Regions from separate parts of the Homo sapiens genome. Here region 2 is linked to region 1. The links are contacts of gene promoters, found by promoter capture Hi-C in human tissues and cell types (Jung and others, 2019). All regions are on one chromosome and are shown on one strand. The core of a region is centred on a gene start or on the middle of the fragment in contact, and the rest is flanking DNA. Distances in the headings are between cores, read along the strand shown. Region 1 holds the start of SALL1 (spalt like transcription factor 1). Region 2 has its middle 120 kb from the start of SALL1.

Region 1 (4,889 bases), core at 2,279-4,778:
GCGCAGCTGCCGCCTCACTTCGGGCTATCCCCATTCGCTATTGCGGATCAGCCCCTAAGTACCAGGCCCTCTGGCGGAACCTGCAAGTCCAAACTTCGCTACCCGGATTCCCCAGTAGTCCCCCCCCCACCCCACCTCCACCCAGAGTTAGGAGGGTGCTACCGCACGTAGAGCGCGCAGGTCTCTGGGGTGAGCAGGGCGCGTGGAGGGACTCCAGGAGTGGCACCTCACTCCCGCTCGCCGCCTACTTTCGACCCGCACAAAAATAAAGAATAACCCCCACTCTGCTTCTGTTTTTATTGATGTATTTCTTTGCATCGCGGCACGCGGAGCCTCGCCAGCGCCCTGACACTGCAGCGCCCGCACCAGCGAACCACGGAACTTGGGACCGAGACAATGGCCCGTAATTGATGTATTGCCATCAACAATAAAGACCAATTCTCCTCTCCCCGCCATTCCGACCATCCCCCTCCTCCCATCCCCCCCTCCTCCACCTCCCATCTCCTTTCCCGGGGCCACCGAGGGAAAGAAAACAAACAAGAAATTAGCGGGGGACGCCAAGCGCAGATCGAAACGCCCGCCTCTACGCCGTCGAGGACGCAAAAAAACGAAAAAAGTTATTAAAGTTTGGATCCCCCAATTTATTCGTCTCTGCTCGCCCATTTTTAATTAAGCATCGCGTAGCTGCTTTTCGCATGTTCATTTCGTTTGGTTGTTTGTTGTGGTGTTTTTTTGGGGGGGGGGAATTTTTTTTTTTCCTACACTTAATCTTAAATCACACGTAGACCAAGTAACAAACACGTGTGAAGTTATTCCCGGGAGCTTCCTGCTGCGCACGCGGCGCGCACCAGGAGAAAAGCTTTGCGGGACCGCCAGCTCCGCTAGGTTCCTGGCTGCATGCGGTGCCCGGGAGGCCCGGACTTTCAAGAAGCCAAGATTGTTAGAGAAGGATGCGGGCGGCTCCAAACACGGGCACATTCCGGGAAAGGAGTGTGCAAGTGCACACAAACGCGTTCGTGTACCTGGGACAGTGTGGATTGGTGGGTGTGCGAGGACCCCTGTTTGTGAGATGGAGGCGGGTGCGGGATTTACACGTGCTCCCGTACACGTTCCCCGGGGTCTGGGAGATGCGAGCCGCTCACACCCCAGGAGTGCGCAGATCCATCTTTGCCGAGGGATCTCTTTAAATATTCAGTGAGAAATAATGGCATTTGAAGCACCACCTATGGAAACATTATTATCTTCATTCTTCAACATCAGCCCCACTGATAGCTTCGTTTGTCTTTTTATCAAAATCTACTGTACCCATCAGGACCTGGCGAGAACGGGAGAGCGAGGCGGAGAGGGTGTGAATGTGTGTGTTAGGGAGTGAGCGAGGGCAGAAGATAAGTAAGAGAAAAGGTGGAAAACGGACGAGCAGGGAGAGAGAAGGGAGAAGTTATACCAATAAAAAAAAATAAAGTCAGCAGATGAAAAACAGAAACATTCATCGGCACACACACACATTTACACCTTAAAAGAAAAGATTTAAGAAGCTAAGAGAAAGGGAAGGGTCCTCTACCGGAGCGCAGTACAGGTCCGGAGTACACGAAGTCGGCTCGGGAGACCGGTGCCCACTTCGCGCGAACCGACCGTGGCACCGGCCAGACTCAAGGGCGCTCGCGAATTGGGGCGTCCTTATGAGCCCTCTCCTTTCCTGATCGTGAGATAGGGCAGGGATTGTGTATCTGCACCCCCCTCCTCCCCCATTACTCAGCCGAAGTTTAGTTTAGTTTAGTCCTTCGGGCGCAAGACTTCGAGAACCTTGGAGCGAGGAGACCCCGAGGCGCGAGGGGAAAGAGCTAGGCTGAGCCGCGTACCGAGTCTCAGGTTCGCGGGCGCCTGAGCCCGGCAGAGGGATCGGGCTCCTGGCTCTGGGCTCTGGGGCGAGGGTAGGGAGGTTGCATCTCAGCTTGAGGGAGATGGTGATAGAGCGAAAAGTTCGGGCGCCGCGCTCGGCAAGTGCCCAAAAAGTGGAGGCGAGCTTCGGCGCCGCCAGGCAGCCTCGGACAGAACACCTCCCCACCGCCCTCCCCCCACCCCGCTTTCCGGCTCTGCGCCGCCACCTCGTCCCGGAAGGCTGGGGCGCGGCCCCCTCCCCAGGGCGGGGTGCCCAGGGGTCCCAGGGACTGGCCCAGTCCAGTGCCGGGTCCGCCCGGGCTGTGTCTCCCTAGGCCGGTGCTCGCTGCTGCGCTCAGTGTGAGCCGCAGCCCCTCCCCTCCCCCCGGCCGGAGCTGAACTCGGAGCCCAGGCCGGTCCCCGCTCTCCGCCCGCCCGGGGCTCTGCGGCGCCACCGCTGCCGCCGCCTCCCCGCGGAGTGACGCGCCCTGCAGCCAACCGGGGCAGCCGGGGGGGAGGTCCGGGAGGGGTCCTGGGCGGAGCCGGGCCGCCCCCTTATCCCACGGGCTCGGGGCTGCTTCTCCCGAAAACTTCAGCCCTAATTGTCCTGGGAATGTCCGAGGTAGAGAAAGGGAGCGAGGGAGCAAGCAAGAAGCTGGAGGATCAGTGCCCCTGGCGGGGAGGGGATGGGGTGGCGGGAGAACTGCCCCTCCCCCCAGCCACAAACCCATCAGGTTCCCAAACCTTTCCTGGATCCTCTTCTCCGCGCCCCCGCGAGCCCGGGATCCAGGGGATGGAGAACTCGGGGCGGAGGAGCGCCGAGCCAGGCGGGAGGGAGGCCGAGCCGTGGGCGGGAGGCGGACCGGCGTGGGGCTGGCTCTTCCCCACTCGCTTATTTTTTTTTTTAATGGGGGTGGGGGTGGGCTGCTTTCTGGTAGCTCTTAAAGAAACGAAGAAACACTCACGAAACGGGACGCCCTCCCCCCTGATCCCGCCGCGGGACTCCCTCCCCCCGCGGGCCGGCGCGCCTCGCCCCCGAGTTGGGAAGTTCGCAGCGCGCCGGCAGCCCGGGTCCCCAGCCCTCGCCGCCCGGCCCCACCCCCCACCCGGGGCGGCTCAATTCCGGGGAGGGCATGCTAATTTGGGTCGGCCCAGCCCGGGATTGTGGGGGGGGGCGAAGGAGGGAGGGAAGAGGGAGGGGAGAGGGAGAGAGCGGGGGGCGCCTGCCGGGGCGCCGGGCCCGCAGTGGAGAGGAGGCCGGCCCCCGGCGGCCGGGCCGCGGAGTCCCGGGCGGTCGCAAAGAGGGTTAACCCAGTGTCGGGCGGCGCGGCGCGCAGAGCCAGCCCCGCGGCCGGCTTATTGGGCCAGCGCGCGGAGAGACAGGGGTCTGCAGCAAATCACGAACTAATTGATTAAGGCGAGCGGGTTTGAATAGCGCTGGCCCGGTGCCAATCGCCTTTCAAAGAGCCCCTCTATGATTAATCGCAATGCATTATTGATAATCATAATTATAGCAGGACACATGCGCGCTGCGCCCGGGGCCGGGGAGCCGGGGAGGGGGCGGGCGGGCCGGCGGGCGGGGGGAGCCGCCGCCGCCGCCGCCGCTCGATTTCCGTAATTTTGAGAAGATTTTTTTTTAGTAATTTTTTATTCTGCCCCAGCTGATGTTTGAGCCAGCATGTCGCGGAGGAAGCAAGCGAAGCCTCAACATTTCCAATCCGACCCCGAAGTGGCCTCGCTCCCCCGGCGAGATGGTGAGTGCTCCGGCCCGCGCCGTGGACACACACACACGCACTCACACTCACGCACACTCGGACCCACTCACACGCGGCTGGCCCCCGCGCCCCCTACCTCACCGCCGCCGCGGCCCCGATTGCTTCTTCCACTCGGCGTAATTTTTTTTTTCTTTTTAATTTTCAATGTGCCTTTGCTGGGCTTTCCCCCGCTGCCCCGGGGAAAGCGAGCACATCTCCCGGCAGGATCTTTCCGGAGTTGTTGGGTCCTCCCGGGGGAAGGAGGGCGGGCATGCCGGCCTGGCTTCTCCGTCCCTGCTTTTCCGGGGATCCCAGCCGCGGCCAAGACCCGGGAGCCCCATGAGGCGTGGGTGCGGGTGGAGGTCGCCCCGGCCTGACCGCACGGGGCCCCTAGCGCTCCCGGCGCCGGCCCCAGGGCACCCGGCCCGGCCTCCGCCGCCCGGCCTTGCTGCCAGCGGTAAGGAAGTTTACTTCGGGCGCTGGGCTGAACTCCGAGCGTGGGGGAGTTCGCTGCGCCCCCCTGCCCCCACGCACACTCCCCCTCGGCCTGCGAGGCAGAACCGGGTGTCTTTGGAGGTTCAGAGCTGCAAGAAGATGGGGACTGGTGTCGGGGCGCCAGCGCCTGACCCGCTGGGGTTGCGGCCGGGGTGGAGAGTGCTGCTGGCCGCCAGTTGTTCCGGAGACGGTGCAAACGGACGGGGAAAGTGTCGGGGTCTGGCTCGCAAAATTTATCTCCGCATCTCTTCCCACAACACTTGCACCCTCTGCCCCCCAAAATCTTTCTGGTCGGTATGCGCCCTCTGCGGATCGTGGTGCTCCCTACTTCCAGGGGGGTCAGGGAAGAAGTCATAGAATAGTTTTCCAGGTTTGCGGGTGGCCAGCCAGAGTGGAATCCCCCCTGAAACAGGGGCACTTGTTTTCTCCGATGGAGGCGACAACTGTGGGTCCCGAAGGGGCTGAACAAGTCCAGAACAAAGTTTGTGTGTGGGGGCTATGGCAGAGAGTGGAAGAGATCCGGGCAGGGAGTTGGGGTACAAAGGGAGGACACCTGGAATCCCTCCTTGCTCCTAAAGGTGTTTCACGGTACCGGCCTCAAAGCTCCCAGGCCTAGCGCCCGAGGCGGTGTAGCGGCGCCCGGACTCGGGTCCCCGGGTCGTCCCGGCACGATGCTGGCCTCTCGGCTGTGGGAGGACGCACAAGGAGCAATCTCGGCGGGGTCTCAGCGGCTCCGGATGCCACTCGGGATGCCCACGCCCT
Region 2 (4,939 bases), core at 285-2,784, 120 kb before region 1:
GAGATCAGAATATATATATACATATGTATATATACATATACACATACACACTCATATACACACCACAGGCCTCCATCAACATGACCTTGCTCCCTTTTGCTTGAGTGAAACAGCTTCTGGGCAGCTTGATGCTTTCTAGATCTTGGCCTCCTGGCTATGTCTGCATATTTTCTTCAATGTCTAAGGAGTACTTAATGAGTGTCAATAATCTGCCTGGCACTGTTCTAGGCACTTGGGACACATCAGTGAACAAGACAAAGTCCCCAGGCTCATGGAGGTGCTAGATGGAGCCAAATGATGATCCCTGACATAACAAAGACAAAAATTGTGCATTGTCTCAGTTCCCGAGGCCCCGCAAGCAGACTCTGAGACAAGAGCTGGTGCAGGGATATTACCTGGGAGGTCATTCTAGGAAGCACAGGTGAGGAAGAGGAATGGGGAGGCAAGGCAGGGAAGAGAAAGATAATTAAAAACACCTCGGTAGCCTGGGCAACATGACCAAACTCCATCGCTACTAAAAATAAAAAACATTAGCTGGACACGGTGGTGCACACCTGTCGTCCTAGCTACTTAGGAGGTTGAGGTGGGAGGATCCCCTGAGCTTGGGAGACAGAGGTTGTAGTGAGCCAAGATTGCACCATAGCACTCCAGCCTGGGCGACAGAGCAAAACCCTGTCTCAAATAAACAAACAAACAAAAAGCATTAATGAGCAGAGGGTTACGGTTAGAGTTAGCCTGTTTTTAAACATCATAAGCATCAAATCATACAGGATATATGTATGTCCTACTTTGTCCTACCCTTTCTGCTCAGTCAGTATAATGGGTGTGAGATCCTTTCATGTCCCTGGATTGGTCTGAAGATTGCTCCTTCTCATTGCAGCGCAGTAGTCCACCATGTGACTCTACCATAATTCACTTCCCAGCCCAGGGCCTTTGCATTGTTTCTGATTTGGGGCTGTAAGCACCACTCTGAAGGTCTCCTTTAGATGAACACATGCTCATTTCTATTTGGTATTTACTCAGTGAGGCAGAATAGGGTCTGGAGACAGGAAACCTAAGGCTGATTTGTGCTGACTTCCTAGAACTGAATCCAAAGGAAAACCCCACCTTTCTACACGCAAGTAACAAAAGGATAAGAGGCTACTCCCTTTGCACTGCCTTGCAGATGAAAAATGAAGAGTACCTATAATTGGTCCCCTCCCGCAATCATTCAGGCTGGTCATGGGGCCAAGTCTTCATGTTTAACTTTGTAACTTGACTTCACCCTCTGATTGGTCACTTCTTGTGACCAATCAGACTGGTTGCAGGCCAAGTCTTCATTTACACAGGGTGTAACCAAGTAACCAATGGGAAACTCTGGAGGGTATTTTAAACTCCAGAAAATTCTGTAACCAACGCTCTTGAGCCACTTGGTCGAGCCAGCTCCTACTCTGTGGAGTGAATTTTTGTTTACATATATCTGTGCTTCCGTTGCTTCATTCCTTCATTGCTTTCTTTGTGCATTTTGTCCAATTTTTTGTTCAAAACGCCAAGAATTTGGATGACTTGTAGTCAAGACCCTCCACTGGTAACACCAGGAGTGGAATTGCTGGATTGTAGAGTTTGCATAGATTCAGCTTTGGTAAATAATTAGCAGATGTTTTGCAGGCCAATTCTGAAACAAAGAAAATAGTTACAGGTTTGACTGTTTTATACTCAACATGAAAATAGTTTGTAGACAGTCCCATGTGGGGTTAAAAATAAATATTTTTACAGCTGAAGTGACTTATTCTATTAAGAAGAAGAATGTCAGTGAGAAAATTGGCCCTCTTGTCGGCCAATATCCAGGCCTTTGGGGAACCCCTGAGGAAGCATCCTCCTCATTTGCCACTTTAAAATTAAAACATGCCAAAGGGGGACAGCTGGAGGAATGCAAGTGTCTCAAATGCCGTCTTTTATCCCCCCAAAGGTGTCTCTCCGCTCCAATTTCCAGAAATCCACACCGCATCTCCACCATTTTCAGGCTCAGGGAAGATGTTTATTGTTCAGTAGATACCTGTAAGCATCAAGGTTTGGGGAGTAGGGGGATATGGAGCAGTTGTAAGGATGCGAATTCTTGATTCAGACACACCAGGTATTAAAGCTTGAATCCTAGCGAGTGATCTTGGATGAATTATTTCCGCTCTTGGGTTCTGGTTTCTTCATCCACAAAATGGACAAAATAACAGTTCTTCTCACTGAGAGAGATTATGGAAAGGACTGTCTGAAATGCATGAAAAGGAATTAGCATAGGGCTAGTGCCTAATTCTCAGAAAACATTAACTGCAATCAGCATCATCGCTGTGGTCATTTGTATTTGCTAGCTGTCAGAGTGGGGATGTTCCCAGCTGTGCAGCACCCAAGTGGGCACTGAAGGTTCATTCTCCCCACCTCTTTCTTCCATGCGGCAACTAAGTCATCACTCTCCCCACCCCAGCTCTCTGAGGTAGCAGAAGAATCCAGGCTACAAGTGCCAGAATCACATCACACTGAGCTTGCTAATCCTTTTTGCCCTCAGATGTGGTTAGCTAGGGAGGGGAAAGGCAAGAGGAGGGAGAATGGCAAGTTGCGAACCCGGGACAACAAAGCTGAGCTGCCTGAAGCCTGCAGCCAGGAGCAAACGGAAACAAATTAGTTCAATCCCAGAATGTAAACCATCATTGACAAAGATGCATGGAAAAGCCATGCAAGGAAAGCCTGCTGCAATTTCTCATCTAGTTAGCAGAGGGATCAATGCCACCGGCACAGGCCCCGTAGAAGACACTGCGTGCGGCAGCATGTGCAGGCCCTGGGGCCTGGGACCCCCTTTTGGGGCTCCCAGATGCATCAGGTGCCAAGGTCAGCTTTGCGGGAAGGGGACTTGCCCTCAGATGTTCTAGTCCATATATTATAGTGCCTGAGAGTCCTGCATGACAGCTTGATTCAGGGATGTAGAATTTTAGGACTTGAAGGATATTTTGTCCAGAGATTTTTATATTCTAGAATTCCATGAATGTGCACTGGGGGCTAGGAGGATGCTGTGAAGATAGGGAAACACTGAATAATAGGTGGGCTCCCAGCTTCAAACAGAGCTGTCATCTGTTTCGGATTGGGATGAAGCATATGAAATTGCCATTTTTATTGGCCAAAGGCAGCTCATTATTGACAATTTCATTTGGTTACATGAGGTGCAGGCTGGATTTGATCCTGAGCAAGCCACCAGCTCCAGGAGGATGGGACAATGGGGTGCAAATCACTTCTCCATCTCTGCACCTGAAACAGGACCTGGCATATGCCACAGCTGGAATAGCAAATGAATGAAGCAGGTGTCAATGCCTTCATGGGTTCTTTCTCTATTCATTCACATATTTGTGAACAATCATTCATTGGTATTAGTATGCATCAGATACTAAGTGCTGGGTTACAACAATTAAGCAGTACTTTGTTTAAATATAGTTAAATTACTTTAACAGCAGACAGACATTAACCTTCCCTGAGGCCATTTATAGTCCAGTGGGTGAGACAGACATTAAACATACAGTGGCCTGAGTGTTTATTACAATTGCAATAAGTGGTACAAAGGAAAGAGGGCACGTAATCCTTCAGTGTTTGATGTGGTTTGGGTGTTTTGTCCCCTCCAGATCTCACGTTCAATGTAATCTCCAGTGTTGGAGGTGGGTCTCATGCTAAGTGTTTGGGTCACAGGGACAAATCCCTCATGAATTTGGGTGCTTTCCTCAGATAATGAGTGAGTTCTGGCTCTGAGTTCACACAAGATCTGGTTGTTTAAAAGAATGTGGCACCTCCCCCTCTCTGTCTGGCTCCTCCTCTCACCCTGTGATACTCTGGCTCTCCCTTTGCCTTTCACCATGATTGGAAGCTTTCTGAGGTCTCACCAGAAGCAGATGCCAGCACTATGCTTCCTGTACAGACTGCAGAACTGTGAGCCCAAATAAACCACTTTTCTTTATAAATTGCCCAGCGTCCGGTGTTCCTTTATAGTATGCAAGAACAAACTAACATAGTACTCATTAGGTGCAAAGTGCAAGGGTGGCCACTGGGAAGGTTACAGTGATAAGATGTTGCCCAGCTGCCAAGAGAAGAAAGTGTAGTAGACAGTATTGTGCTCAGAAAGCTTTGGTATCTCTCCTTTGGAAGAATGGTCCTTACCTCACCTATTGAGCTCAGGCATGGCCAGGTGACTTGTTTTAGCCAATGAAATGTGAGCATGAGTGACTCGTCATTTCCAGGCAGAAGATTCAAGCCTCAGTGTGCCATGCTCTCTTTTCCTATTGCCACATACTGCTGCTTCTTTAGCGAGGGTCCTGGAATACAGGCCCTGGGAAGCAGTCCTCAGCCCTTCCCAATGGGTGCAAAAACCACCTAATAATTTCAGGTTGTTTGTTTCAGACTGTTTCAGCATAAGCTTGTCTGACTAACAGCAGTCATCCATGCCCTTGCCCTAATCTAACATGAAACCATGTTGTAGATTTCCATATTCCTCTCCAGTGCTAAGTACAGTAGCTTCCATGTGGTAAGTACCAGTAAATGATTGCGAATGAACAATTCACCACAGGATGTGGTAATTGCCATAAAAGAAGGGCAAATCTGGCGTCCTGAGAGCTCAGAGAAGGGAGAGCTCAGCTTTAAGCTCCAGAATGAGAGCATCTTGAGCACAGACAGACCCTAAATGCTGGGTAAATAACAATGAGTATTACAATCACTGTTATCATTCTAGTCCAGTTGTGTTTGGGGAATGGCTTGCAGGTGAGTGAGAGTGGAGCACATCATACTGCCTATGGTCTTTCTTTATACTCCAGAGGGCATGAACATTAGTAGCTGTGGCCTTATATTCTTAGAGCCTCATGATCAGAGAAGAACATGCATCCTTCTCAGCTCAAATTTTTTAAATCCCAGGGAAGACTTCCTATTGGCTCAGTTG

Evidence for each region. Contacts are between HindIII fragments. The study calls those that stand out against the background at their distance.
Region 2: a fragment that was not itself captured here is called in contact with the fragment with the promoter of SALL1 in region 1 in 2 of the 25 tissues and cell types used here (dorsolateral prefrontal cortex and pancreas).

Annotation. Positions count from the first base shown.
Region 1 is chr16:51,149,909-51,154,797 of GRCh38, reverse strand. It overlaps SALL1 (spalt like transcription factor 1), which reads left to right and starts at 3,528. Exons shown (of 3, transcript NM_002968.3): 1 at 3,528-3,632. The coding sequence starts at 3,557. RefSeq lists enhancers at 1-175, 3,831-4,331. The HindIII fragment of the contact is 9,229 bases long and covers 1-4,889 here.
Region 2 is chr16:51,268,946-51,273,884 of GRCh38, reverse strand. No RefSeq gene overlaps it. Among named protein-coding and RNA genes, the nearest start is that of SALL1, 120 kb to the right of the region's middle. The HindIII fragment of the contact is 4,943 bases long and covers 1-4,005 here.